Linked DNA regions of Homo sapiens: region 2 is linked to region 1. Evidence: promoter capture Hi-C in 16 types of primary human blood cells and fetal thymus (Javierre and others, 2016). All regions are on one chromosome and are shown on one strand. The core of a region is centred on a gene start or on the middle of the fragment in contact, and the rest is flanking DNA. Distances in the headings are between cores, read along the strand shown.

The links. Contacts are between HindIII fragments. The CHiCAGO score rates a contact against its expected background, and 5 or more counts as called.
Region 2: a fragment that was not itself captured here is called in contact with the fragment with the promoter of FAM133B in region 1 in 1 of 17 cell types (M1 macrophages); the score reaches 5.8 in M1 macrophages.

The regions. Positions count from the first base shown.
Region 1 is chr7:92,587,508-92,594,736 of GRCh38, reverse strand. It overlaps FAM133B (family with sequence similarity 133 member B), which reads left to right and starts at 4,347. Exons shown (of 11, transcript NM_152789.4): 1 at 4,347-4,469. The coding sequence starts at 4,446. LOC105375397 (a long non-coding RNA gene) reads left to right here. Exons shown (of 3, transcript XR_927744.3): 3 at 2,589-2,717. RefSeq lists enhancers at 4,190-4,469, 4,560-4,619. The HindIII fragment of the contact is 8,062 bases long and covers 1-5,510 here.
Region 2 is chr7:93,005,416-93,012,644 of GRCh38, reverse strand. No RefSeq gene overlaps it. Among named protein-coding and RNA genes, the nearest start is that of SAMD9, 110 kb to the left of the region's middle. The HindIII fragment of the contact is 963 bases long and covers 2,587-3,549 here.

The DNA of each region.
Region 1 (7,229 bases), core at 3,098-5,597:
ATTATGCACCGCCAACCCCGGCTAATTTTTTATAGAGATGAGATTTTGCCCTGTTGCCCAGACTGGTCTTCAACTCCTGAGCTCAAGCAATCTACCCACCTCGGCCTCCCAAAGTGCTGAGATTGCAGGTGTAAGCTACTGTGCCCGGCCTACTCATACTCTTTATAATTCTCTTTTTCACTTAATAATAATGTATAGTGGCCATTTTTCCCTATCAACACATACAGCTCTACATCACTTTCTAAATAACTGCATAATTTGCCATTACATGGACATACCATACTTTAACCCTTTTGATGGATATTTAACTTGTTTCCTGTCTTTTGCTCTGTCATTTAATATAGTTGGATAAACACAACGGCTGTTGTCTTCAAACACAAAAGCTCCATGTTTTCATTTCCAGTCTAGTGACATGCATGCCAAAACAACATACTTGGGTTTGTGGGTTGAGTTTCTGTATCTCTCACCATTGTTTAAAATCTCAAATACCCACACAACAATAACAAAAAAAAATAGGAAAATCAGGCTGGGCTTGGTGGCTCATGCCTGTAATCCCAGCAATTTGGGAGGCCGCGGCGGGCGGATCACTTGAGGTCAGGAATTCAAGACCAGCCTAGCCAACAAGGTGAAAACCCATCTCTACTAAAAATACAAAAATTAGCCAGGCATTGTGGTGACGTGTGCCTGTAATCCCAGCTACTTGGGAGGCTGGAGCAGGAGAATCACCTGAACACGGGAGGCAGAGGTTGCAGTGAGCTGAGATCTCACCACTGCACTACAGCCTGGGTGACAGAGCGAGACTCTGTCTCAAGAAAAAAAAAAAAAGAAAAAAGAAAAAGAAAAATATATAGGACAATCCACTATATTGTTTAATTTGGATATAGACCCAAGTTCATCGCTAAAGATGCCACCTGAGTTATAATCTTTGTTATTCAAGCTGAAAAATCCTGCCCCAGAGAATTATTATTATTATTAGACTGTTACTATTTACAGCTTTGCCTTTTATCAATGCTTATGTTACTACCCTGCTTAAACAGCTTTATCTCATTTGCAAGAACATGGGTAGATCTGGAGGATGTTATATTAAGTGAAATAAGTCAGGCACAGAAAGACAAATACTGCATGATCTCACTTATATGTGGAATCTAAAAAGGCTGAACTCATAGAAGTAGAGAGTAAAATTTGGTTATCAGGGGCTGGAGGAGTGGGAAGGGAGGGAAGTGGGAGCTGCGGATCAAAAAGTACAAAGATTTAAATAGACAAGAACAATAAGTTTTGAGATCTACTGCACAGCAGGGTGACTATGGTCAATAATAATGTATCATATATTTCAAAATAACCAAGAGTAAGTTTCAAATGTCTCACCATAAAAAAAATAGGTAGGCAAGGTGATGGATATGTTAATTTGTTTAATCACTCCACATTGTATACATATAACAAAATATCATATTGTACTCCATAAATGTATACAGTGATTTGTCAATTAAAATAATATTAATTTTTAAAAGGCTCTACAGCTGGGTGTGGTGGCTCATGCCTGTAATCCCAACACTTTGGGAAGCCGAGGAGGGTGGATCATCTGAGGTCAGGAGTTCGAGACCAGCCTGGCCAACATAGTGAAACCCTGTCTCTACTAAAAATACAAAAATTAGCTGGGTGTGGTGGTGCATGCCTGTAATCCCAGCTATTTGGGAGGCTGAGGCAGGAGAATCGCTTGAACCCAGGAGGCAGAGGTTGCAGTGAGCCGAGATCTCACCACTGTACTCCAGCCTGGGCAACAGAGCAAAACTCTATCTCAAAAAAAAAAAAAAAAAAAAAGGCTCTGCCTGCAGAATAAAATATAACTTCTTCCTTTGGCATTCGAGGTCCTTTGCCTCCAGGCCCAGTGTACCTTTCCAGCCTTGTTCCCTTCTATCATAAGTGTTCTATGCTGCCAAACCTGACCACATCACCACTCCTTTTACGCGGGCTATTCCCTCTGTAATGTCCTTCCCTCTCAGTTCCTCTGAGGGAAGCTGGCCCAGGGTCACAATCCACCTGAAATGCCACTTCTCAATCCTCCCTCTCTTCTCTCCCCTCCCAAAGGCAGTGTGATTTTGTAAGGAAAGCATATGCTTTCATGGTGTGGGTGGGTGTGTGTGTGTGTGTGTGTGTGTGTGTCTACGCGTGCCTGTGTGTCTATGTGTGTATTTAATAGAGACTGCATCTTGTAAATGCTTTCATGTTTGACACACCTGTGTTTGAATCCCCAGCTTCTCTGCTTTCTTGCTGTGGAAGCTGGCACAAATTACTCGGCTTCCCTTCGCCTCGGTTTTTCTCATCCACAAAATGGAATGTAATCTCCTGGTTATGCCTAGAACATTCGGGAGGGCATGTAGGCCCACTGCTAGGACAGAAATGTATTTATTAGCAGATCACACATGTGCAGAGAATGTGTAAAGATTTCTACTGTCACTGAATTATATCCTGAGAAGTCTTGGACTGATTTGTTCTTTATGTAGTCCACTCAGATGAGCTCCCGATAGCTCTTGCCATCTTCCTTATCTTCACAGGCCCCTGGTCATTTTCTTGTTTCTCTGTCCCCCCAGGGATTCACGTTTCATCCAGGAGGGGTTGTGTACACTCGCAGAGAGAGAGAGACTTCTAAAGGAAACACAACCTTTCTGTTGACTTATACCATATTTTTAAAAATCTCTGTGTTCTGTACAATCAGCCAACCAAGGAAGTGAAAGGTAAGAAGGAGCTGAAGAGGGAAAAAAAAAACTATATTCTCTCACAGGTATTATCATGCTTATCATGTTGGAGTATTAAAAATAATATCTGTCAAATGCCTAGAATATTTAAAACATGAAAAATAAGCCAGGAAAGAAAGAATAACTTAATATTAATAGGTTCTCCTCTTCCTCTTGTGTATAAAAAGAAGCCTGTCTTCAGTCAGAGTCCCCAGCTTAAGTCGGGGGTAATGGAGGAGGAGGAGAAATGAGAGACTGGAGGCCTCATTTTGGAAAGTGGGTTACTGAGGAAGAATCAACACTTAGTAGGGAGCAGAACCACCAAGGACTGCATGTGAGAGTTTGGAAAAGTTTTGAGACAGAAGATGGTAGTTGGGAGCATCTGTCATATAGTGTAGCATGAAAAATGCAGGGAGGGAGGGAGGCAGAGATCGGGAAAGATGATTTTAAAGCATGTTCTTGTATGTAATTAGTGTAATTCCCATTTTGCCATTTCCAAGAGTCCGGAGAAGATCCTAATTGATTTTCAACTACTTCCTAATGATACTTGCTAAGATGAACCCAGAGGGGTCGCTTTATCTATAAATACTTACTAAATATGATTATCTTCTCTGGAGCCCAGATCATCTTCCTTAAAGTTGCAGTGCAGTAGTGCCAATATTACGATATGCTATGCAGTAAAGTTGGCCCTGTGTGTGTTTATTGCCCTTACGAGTTTATAAACAGGCTCCTTGACGATAGGGATTTTTCTTAATCATCTTTGTGCCCTACCCAGCTCCAGCTTCCAGCCACCCAGTTAGTGAAAACTGTACAAACTACATGTTCAAAAATTAGTGTGAAATGAATGCACAGGTGATGAATGAATGGGATTGAAATTAAAGGGTGATTTCGTTAGCAGCGTCTATGACAGCACTGCCTTTCCCCCCACCAGCTGATGGGCTCCGTGAGGGACCAAGGCTCTTTGGTCCTCACTTTGTCCCCAGCACTTGCACTCTGTCAAGCACAAAATAAGCATCGGGAGAATCTTTGTGTCCCCTCGAATGAGTATTTCAGTGTATCAAGAATGGAAGAAAGGCCAAGCGCAGTGGCTCATGCCTGTAATCCCAGCACTTTGGGTCGAGGCGGGCGGATCACTTGAGGTCAGGAGTTATAGACCAGCCTGGCCAACGTGGTAAAACCCTGTCTCTACTAAAAATACAAAAAATTTAGCCCGGCGTGTTGACGGCCGCCTGTAATCTCAGCTACTCGGGATGCTGAGGCAGGAAAATCGCTTGAACCCGGGAGGTGGAGGCTGCAGTGAGCCTAGATCGTGCCACTGCACTCCAGCCTGGGCGACGGAGCGAGAGTCTGTCTAAAAAAAAAAAAAAAAAAAAAAAAAAAAAAAAGAATGGAAGAAAGCAAAACAATCCAAGGCCAAACTGAAGCGAGCTGCCTTGGTGGGGCTCCGGTGCAGAAGCGCAGCGTCGCCTGCTCTTGGGTGCCTAATGAACGACCGGACTCCTGCAGGCGCTCCGCCAACTGCAGCGATCTCTGGAGCCGGCCTGTCCTCCACAGAGATAGGGGGCGCTGTAGCAGAGCGCGGCCGTCGAGTCCGCGTGGTGCCGCTCTCTAGGCGGAGTGGGGAGGCGGCAAGAGGACCTGCGGCAGGCCCTCTTCGGCAGTCTCTCCGGCCCGGTTTCCCTCGGCGTGCTACTGTGCGCTCGATCCAGCACCATGGGGAAGCGGGACAATCGGGTGGTGAGTACTCAGCCGGGAAAACAGTGGGGCGACGCAGGGCCCGGCGGCAGGACAGCGAGAACCCTCGCTGTTCCCGGCCGGGCCGGAGGGCAAGCGGCAGCCCTCAGACGTGGGGCCTGGAGACCCAGCACCCTCCGCCGATCCCAGATGCGCGTGCGCCGCGCACGCAGTTGGCGCTTTAGGGTTCCCAGCTCTCTCTTGCCCGCCCCTTTTTTCTTCCCTCACCTCGTCGCTCTTTCTGGCGCTGCTGGTTTGCACTCTTGCCTGCTGTACGCGGGCCCCCAGTGCCCACTTAGAACCGCGAGGGCTCGGGGAACCCCCCCCACACCTGGCCCCGCCATGTAACTCCGAAGACTTAGGCCCTTGGACGCATCCGACTCACCCGCCCCTTGGTATCGGCCGCCCCAGGTCCGCACCCCTCTCCTGCGCACCCAAGTGGGAGGGAGGCACAGAGGCCTCGACGCGGTCCCTGTGCCGGAGAGCCAGCAGCGCGCCTGGTTTTAGCGACAAGCAGGCTCCCGTTTGAAAATGGGATGGCAGCATTTGCTTTCGTGTCTCCAGCGCCCTGTAGGACCTGGCCCCCATAGACACTGTGAGGGAATGAATGGCGTGAAAATAGTTGGCTTTCGAGTCCAACACAAAACTGGAATGTCAGTTTTGTTCCGTCGGAAGTTGGGTGACCTAGAACAAGTTACTTTTCTTCTCTGTGCCGTCGTTTATAAAAGGGGATCATTATTATCTACAACCTTACAGATTAATTGAAATCACAAAAGGCAAGATGTGTGAGCGAGTACTGGGCATGAAAATTATTACTCTAGTGAATGAGATAAAAGAGATGCATAAATAACTTACAGCAGAAAGAGTAGGAAATGGTCCTTGATAGTTGTTAGAGATTCTAAAGGCATTCAAAAGAAAAGGTGCTTTTGAGAAGCGGAGATGGGAGGAAAGTATTCTAGACCGCTGGGGCGGGGAGGGGGCTGAAAAACTCAGGTTATGAATCAGATTGAATGAGTAGTAAACATAATGAAATAACAATAAGCTTAGGTTGCAGCCTGACAATTTCTGGGCTTGCCTGTGACAAAGTTTTAGCCACTGAGTAGCAAAATGAGGAAAATGCACGTAAAACGAATGTGCTACGTTTCTTGAACTCGCTTTTTTATTCAACAATTATTTGCAAGCTGTGTGTGTCTCACACCAAAGGAGACTTAACATTTACGAAATGATGACACTTGCCATCTGTAGTAGCCAGTTCTTGCATGGCTTTTATAAAGAAAAACCTGAGGCTGGGTAATTTATAAAGAAAAGTGTTTAATTGGCTCACGGTTCTATGGGCTGTACAGGAAGCTTAGCGGCATCTGCTTCTGGGGAGGCCTCAGGGAGCTGTTACTCATGGTGGAAGGCAAAGCAGGAGCAGGCGTCTTACATGGCAGGAGCGGGACCAAGAGAGGGACGGGGAGAGTTGCTACACAGTTTTAAACAACCGCATCTGTTGAGAAATCATCTCTATGCAGTGCTGGGGAGAGGAGGATGCTAAGCCATTCATGAGAACTCCGCCCCCATGATCCAGTCACCTCCCACCAGGCCCCACCTCCAACATTGGGGATTACAATTCGACATGAGATTTGGGCGGGGACACAGATCCAAACCATTTCACCATCTTAAAAACTTTGTAGTTCTGTATAGTCTTTATAATGGAAAATGTCTAGGAACCACTGTGGTAGTGAATCTTGATTACAAGATAGCGGGTTGTTCTTTCTCCTGGCTGTAGGTGAGACTTTGTTGTGCTATCTTGATTGTCATGGCGTTGAAATTATGTAGCATAACACCATTTCAGCATAGGAGCATCCTTAGGTGTTTGAGTATTTTGGGCTCTTCTAATACCCTTGGGCCTTGAATGTTTAGAGATCACCTGACCTTGGATGCAGTTTCATATACAGACCTAAAATGTTTCATATTACTGAAAAAACGTTTTGGTTGAAACATTCCTCTAAAACATTTGAAAAACTTACCAAATTAGCTTCATTTACTAGAACATTTTGATAGCTCTGGGCTCTACTTACTACTTTTGGTATGCAGCTATGGCACAGAGTATTCTGGTAACATTTTGTGTGCACTTCAAAGATTGGGATTAAGAACAAGAAATTAAGAGGTAGAAGACACGGATTGTCTAATTCAGTCTCCTCATTGCATAGAGGAGGGGTAAGACTTTAAACTGGGACCAAAACTTCAGTCATCTGACACTCAATTCTGTACATCTTAACTCTTGATTTTCTTTTTAAGACTTTTTTTTTTAAGCATTTTTAGTTTTACAGCAAAATTGAGAGGAAGGTACAAAGATATCCCGTTTACCTCCTGACCCCACTCGTGCATAGCCTCCCCATTATGAACATCCTTCACCAGAGTGGTACATTTGTTAAAATTGATGAACCTACATTGACATGTTACTATCATCCAGTCAGTAGTTTACATTAGTGCTCACTCTTAGTGTTCATTCTCTATGGGCTTGGACAAATAAATTTATTTATTTATTTATTTAGACACAGTATCTCACTCTTGCCCAAGCTGGAGTGCAGTGTCGCCATCATGGCTCACTGCAGCTTCAACTTCCCAGGCTCAAGGGATGCTCTCACGTCAGCCTCCCAAGTAGCTGGGACCACAGGTGTGTGGAACCACACCTGGCTAATTTTTTGTTGTTTTTTTGTAGAGATGGGGTTTCACCATGCTGCCCAGGCTGGTCTCAAATTCCTGGCCTCAAGCAAT
Region 2 (7,229 bases), core at 1,819-4,318, 420 kb before region 1:
GATCCTTTATTGATGTAGACCTCCAACATGATTAAAGAGGATGAAAAAATTTTTGAAGCAAAGCTTTGTCAAAGCAAATATCTTACCTCATGGTAGATATAGTCCAGTGTTATTAGTCCTAATTTTTAAATTTATCTCAGATGAGATCTTCGGGATTTGGATCCAATATTCCTTTCTCTATTCTCAGATGTGCTGTGTTTTACTGATTGATTCCAGGAAGGAAATATAGTTAATTGCTCTTAAGCCATTAAATTCCCCTTTATCTTTGTGACTGTCAATAGCATTAGCAGCAAAAGAATGTACTCCCTCTTAATCCGATAGAAGTATGAAAATCTTGATATTGCAACTGCCTTTTGATATCAATATTCTACATGGCATTTTATTAAGTGGAAAGTGGCAAATATGCTCTTTTTTTTTTTTTTTTTGAGAAAATTAGACTAAAGGTGTTCCAGTCCCAGAGGGGCTTTGAGCTGAGTGGACACAGAAACAGTGAATCACCCTTCTGCATAAAGCTGGCTGCCTGGAAGTTTAACCCCCAAAACAAGTGTGGATGGTAGTCATAACAATGCTATCAGAATACCTTTCTCTTCCAAAAGGAATTGGGGCATTGTTCCAGGGTGGACATTACACATTTCCCACATGGCAGCAGGAATTCTAAAATTGTTGAAGTTGCTATGGTGGTCACCAATCAAGAAATACAAAATATATACAGTTTTTAATTAATTCAAACATTTATTGAAAGTTTATATAGATACAGGCATATAGAAATGCTCTTGTGGAACTTAAAATTTATATTATGTGTATATATTCATGTATTTACTTCTCACATACTTAGCACGTAGACACCACACCGGACACACACACATGCATACACGATTGGTCATTTCCAGCAACTTTGACAATCTACTACAAAGCCAAGAACTTCTGAGTCATGTAGAAGGCAAACCATGTCAGAATGTTTAATGAGAAAAAATCATGAGCTCATAGAAGAAGCCTTTGGGCCTCACACAAAACTCATGTGCTCTTACTTTTCTCACAATTCCAGCAAGCTTCGATTATCTCATATCTAACAGAGCTGTTGAATAATCTCATTAGCTCATCGCAAAATAAAAGGCGTACCAACAGCAGGGGAGGGGAGTTATTAAGTGAATACAGTAAGTAAAAAGCACAATAATTAGGGACTATTTAATGCAGGGGCAAACAACAGTATACCCTCAGTAGTCCCTGAGTTACTAGGTGAGATTAAATTATGTTCAGCATTATCCATCACCAAGACAAGGAAGTGTTAATTCGTTTTGTTAAAAAGGTTGAATTTTTAAGCTGATACTTTGTTCTATTCCTTCAATAATATTGATAACAAATGAGCTGTTATTATGCAAAGATACTTGTTACTCACCATTAAACTCATATTTATCACATTTTGCCCTTTTCTAGTTTGGGGAGAGAAAATGATAGATTGGACAATATAGACTGGTAAGTGTGATATAAGGCACACTTCTTCCAATTTGAAAATACCCTAGCAAATGAACTGTTTCTGTCCAAAATATTCCTTTGGTGATAGAAAGGAGGGTCCCTGCATCCAAAAAACAAGGATAAAGCTCTGTCTTCAGCAGAAATCTCCTTGATTTGTGACTTTATAGTTTGCATGACTAACGTTCTTGATTTCTCATTTTTATAGATTGAATTGGTGAAAGTGATTTTATGTTCCCTGGAATTCCCAACACTTAAAAAGTAAGCTTTTTGCATTTCAAATGCAACCTATACAAACTGTTTTGTTTACAAAGCCTCTGAGGTGAGAAGCCAGAGTTCCAAGCATCAGGAAACCATGGGTGAGCAAGATAATTTGACAGTCAGAAAAGTCGAGCTGTTCAATAATGCTACCACTTGCCTTCCATGGAGATCTGGGATTAGTGACTTCCATGACGAATTACACACATCATGGACGTGAAGTGATCTGTTTAAGGGGTTCATTTGCAAGAGCACATGAAAGCAAGAACTTATAATGAACTCTTGGAATACTTAAAGCTTAGTAGTAACAGATATAAATTACTGCAGGAAGCAAAGGATGCTTCCAGAATATGTACAAGTGTTCAGAGTCCTTTTCTGGGAAAAAGAAATATCCCCTCCTAGTATTTCCAAATTTGAACACTCTAGGAGAGTATACTAAACGTTAGAGGTTTTTCACCATTCGATTTTAAGATTTAGTAAAAAGCTACACTAATTAAGTCAATGTGGTGTTTGCATAAGGACAAACATAGAAGAGAATCAAAAATAGACCCACACAGCCGTTTGATTTTCAACAATGATGTCAAGGTTATTAAATGGGGAATAGAGTTGTTTCAATAAATGGTATTGGACAAATGGGTATACATATGAAAAAAATGTGAACCTTTGCCACCATATTTAAAAAATTAACTCCATATGGCTCACAGAATTAAGCATAAGTGCTAAAATGATAAAATATGTAGAAAAAAGGAAAAGGAGAAAATCTTGGTTACCTTGAGTTAGTCAAAGATTTCTTAGGACACTGAAATCATGAATCAAAAAGAAAAAAATGGTAAATTAGACTTCATTAAATTAAAAGCTTCTGCACTTTCAAAGATCTGAAAGACAATGTTAAGAAAATTAAAAAGCAAGACACAAGGTGGGAAAAATATTTACAAATCACATATCTGATGAAGGGCTTGTATCCAGGATATATAAAAGAACTCTCAAAACTCATAAGAAAGCAAACCACACAATTTTTAAAAAATAGGCAAAAGGTTTGAATAGATAACTTACAAAAGAAGATACACAGATGGCAAATAAGCACAAGAAAAGATGCTCAATGTCATTACTTATTAGAGAAATGCAAGTTGAAGCCATCATATGATACACGCATCAGAGTGGCTAATTTATTACACCTATCAGAGTGGCTAATTTAAAAGAATGACAATAGCAAATGTTGATTGGGATGCAGAGCACCTGAAATTCTCATACACTGCTGGTGGAAATGTAAAATGGTACTATCACATTGAGAAAAAGTTTAGCAGCTAGTTACACATTAAACAAAAAATTACCATACAATGTAGCAATTCCATTTCTAAGTATTTACCCACAAAAAATAAAAACATATGTCTGCACAAAAACCTATATGAAATTTTTATCTTTTATTTCTACAGTTCTATTCACAGTCACCAAAAGCTGGAAACAACCTAAATGGTCAAAAAGGATGAATAGATAAACTGTGGTACATTCATACAATAGAATACTACCCAGTAACAAAAAGTAACAAACTAATGATATGCACAACTGTGGGTTAATTTCAAGAGTATTATGCTGAAAGAAAAGAGCCTTACTCAAAAGGCTTCCTAAAATGATTTCATGCTCCTCATCTTTGCCATTTTAACCCAATTATAATTGCAGCATAACACTAAGGCATATTGTAGAATACAACGCTTTTGTGTGTATTTTCTATTTGATTAATCTCACAGGGTTTTTTTTTTCTACTTAACTGAACTACTTATCAATAGAAGTTAAAGAGTTTCTCTTGAAAGTCAGCCAGAAGCTTTTTACCAACAGATGTTCAGTGCTTGAAAGATAGTTCTCAGTGACAATTGGCCAGTTCAAACAGCCTCTCCACACTTTGAAAATGCCCTGAATTCGACTTTATTACTGAGTCTAATCCCATTGAGGAAGGAGTCTAGGGACAACAGACTGGTTTGGAAGAAAAGAATTTGAGAATTGATAGCTAGTGGCAGATTGGAAATTCATAATTAAGAGCAGAAAATCTGGTATGTTATCGGTACTTTGTCACCCCACCAAATCATCAGTGAACTAACCATGTCTAGTTAACGTGTTGTGGAATTTAACTCGTTTCTGTAATGCATCTATGTAGTCTTTCCTTGAAATGAGAGAAGAGAAAAAATAAAGGTTGCCTTCAAGAATTGCCATGCATTGATTTCAAGGATAGTAGAACTTGCTTCTCTGAATTATTTTGAGGATTAAATAATGTATTAAACTATCCTGTACAATACTGACCATTTAATATATGTTCAGCAAATGTTGATTTCTCCTCACTTCTTTTATACAAAGGAGAATATTTTTAGAATTGGAAAGACCTCAGAGGTTACCTGGTCTAGTGTTTTAATTTTACAAATGAGAAAACTAGGTTCGATGAGATTAAGGGGTTGCTCAAACTCACTCAGAGTTAGAAGTCCAACTTCCAGTTCACATGAATCCTTTCCCTAAAGCACCTGCTTTCAACTGTGGTGTCTCAAGCAGCAGAGCTGGAGGGAGAACTGAGGGACCAAATAATTTTATCCTAAATAAACCATATTTAGGGATCACGGACTCTTGCTTCTGGGCTTCTTGCTCTGTGTTTATTTTGGCTATTTTCAATTATTTTTTGCTTCCAAGAATGGGAGATAATGGGAAGCCTTTCTCTTTAAGGACTAGGATTGCTAAATTTAGCAAATAAATTACAAAGTGCACAATTAGATTTGAACCTCAGATAAAAAACACTTAATTTTTTAGTTTCATGAAGTATTTGGAATATACCTATGCTGACAACTTCTCTGTGTTCTCTGTTAGGGAACAATCAAATATGTGGTTCTCAACCATGACTTTTTTTTTTTTTTTTTTTTGCTCTAAAGCAAATAAGCAGTAGCAAAATGGTCACTACCTCCATGCATGAGTCTTGGCTGCCTGACAGTTTCTGCCCATGACCATTTTCCCTCACCTGGGATCTGGATAACTGTAATGGACAGCCTCTGTGGCGAAGTCTGTGCCTCATGGAGATGGTGATGGGGCAGGGCAAAGTGGATGATGTACCTAAGTGGCATTGGGAGGACATGTTTTGCCAAACAGGAAGTAGACAATTCTACCATCCAGCAGACCACGGTTCAAATCCCTTTCCCTCTTTCTAGCTGTATGGCTGTATGACTTTCAGCAAGTTGCTTAAACTACCCCCAACCACCCACTCATCCTCAGACTCTGCTTTTTCCTTCATAAAATAGGTCTTTATTTCCTTCACAAACCTTAAGTTTTTGTGAAGATTGAATATAATGAGAAGAAAGTGCTGGTCATTGTACCTAGAATATAACTAGAGTCTTATAAATTATCATTTCTAAAATTGTACACACGTTTTACATACTTGTCTGTGTATTTGCTGTAGTTCACACTAAAAACTGTTTAAACAAAAGAGCGTGGGCAAACTTGCAAGGGTCTTGAATGGCAGAACGTGGAGTTTGAAGACTAAATTTTATCCTCCAGTTATGAGGGAACTGTTGGTATCTGCACAATGTTTGAGACCCAGAGTCAGACAACTTCCTCCCAAGTTTCCCCTAAAAACTATCTGGGAAATTTTGTAGAACATCATTTCCTGAAGGATCACGAACACATTCACCAACACAGGATGAACTGACCTGCCTTCTCCAGGTTTCTTCCGCTAGAACCTTGACAGAGTAGGCAAGAAGTTATGACTCTTCCCACCCATCTACTTTGTGCTGTATGAGAAATGGATAAACATTGGACATAACCAGGTAGTAATTCCTGCTCCATCACTAAGTCATTAGTAGAATGGCCTTGTACAAATTAATCAATTTTTCTGAGACTTTATACAGTAGGGATAATACCACTAAGCCAGCAGATTCTTAGAATTAGAAGAGTCTAATGCAGTGCCTGGTTATAGGAGCTGCTCAATAATCTGTGTGTTTATTTCCTACCTCTTTGGAACACTACACTGAAGTTTTATGAATCATAGGTCCCTAGGGTGCTCTTTTTCACACATATGAGAAAACTGAGTTCCAGTTGTTCTGATCAGCTTTGTTTAGAAAGTGGCTTACTGAAATATCTTAGACAGTTGACACCTGAATGCCTCAGATTCTTATTCAACCTTCCCCTTAGTGCTCTGTATGCACGTCCTAGCTTCACCAGTCGCCTTGCTTATGGCTTTAGAACTTGCAGATGTGTGTTATCTGCTCCTGCTGTTTGGTCAACTTCAAGTGCTTCTAATCTTTTTATAACTAGTTCTGTTGGCTGTTATCTAGATTCCTTGTTGCGCCTTGTCTATTGTAAAGTTTTAACAGATCTCCACCCACTTCCCTGGCAATTAGAAGGGTAATACAATTATTTAACAATGTGCTAGAACCTTCTATTGGGTATGCTTCTTAATCAGACCTTTTCGCACTTTGCCTTGTGTGTATGTGAAAAATATTACCTGAAGGTTTTTCTTAAAGTTGGATTATTATACTATTTCTTGAACCAAATACCAAGTAAGGGCCCAGTGCACTCTTCTGCCACTAACCCATCCCTCCCCAGCCTTAGGAGATAGCTATTGTTTCCTTTAATCTAGAAAGACGAATCTGACCTATTACTTTAGTTTTGTAAGTCTGTTTTTGTCATTTTCTCATATAATTTTACCACTCTTTCTATTCTGGTCCTTATCTGTGTGGCTCTATAGTCACCGAAATCACCAGCTCTGTATTTAATCACAGGATAATGTGGGGTATTAGAAAAAGCAATGGACTTTGAATCAAGAGAGGTCAGTTTTCATCTAGGCCCTGCCACTAACCAGCTATATGACCTTGTCAAGACAGTTCACTTCTCTGGGCTTCAGGTTCCTCACCTGCAAAATATCTAGAGAACACACTTCCCCCTTTGGTTTTGTGATCTGAGCACCTCCACCTCTGAAACACCTGTCCTTATGTCTATGGGCTTCCCATACATTCCTGACCACCTAGCAAAGAACAGCTTTTACTTTCTCTCAATATTTCACTCTTAGTTTTTGTCAAATGTCCTCTCATATGCTTTCTCACTAGCCCCAAGCAATTCAGCTTAATCCCAGCATAAAGAAACCAATCATTACTGAATATTAGATATAGGTCCACTAATCTAACTAGAGTTAGACCCAGTAACTATTGTCTATGTAATTTAAAAAATGTTAGTCATGTAATTTTTTCTTAAACCATAAAAATATAATTTATAATTTAAAAATGAAATTGTACATTTCTTGGCCAACTTGTGAAGTTGTCTGGAATTTTTTTTTCTTCAGAACCCAATTCATAAAAAAGTGGGATGCAGCTACTCAGGAGGCTGAGGCAGGAGAATCACTTGAACCCGGGAGGCGGAGGTTGCAGTGAGCCAAGATCATGCCATTGCACTGCAGCCTGGGCAATAGGGCAAGACTCTATCTCAAAAAAAATAAATAAATAAAAAGTGGGCTTATGAGGAGGGTAATGAAGGTGGTA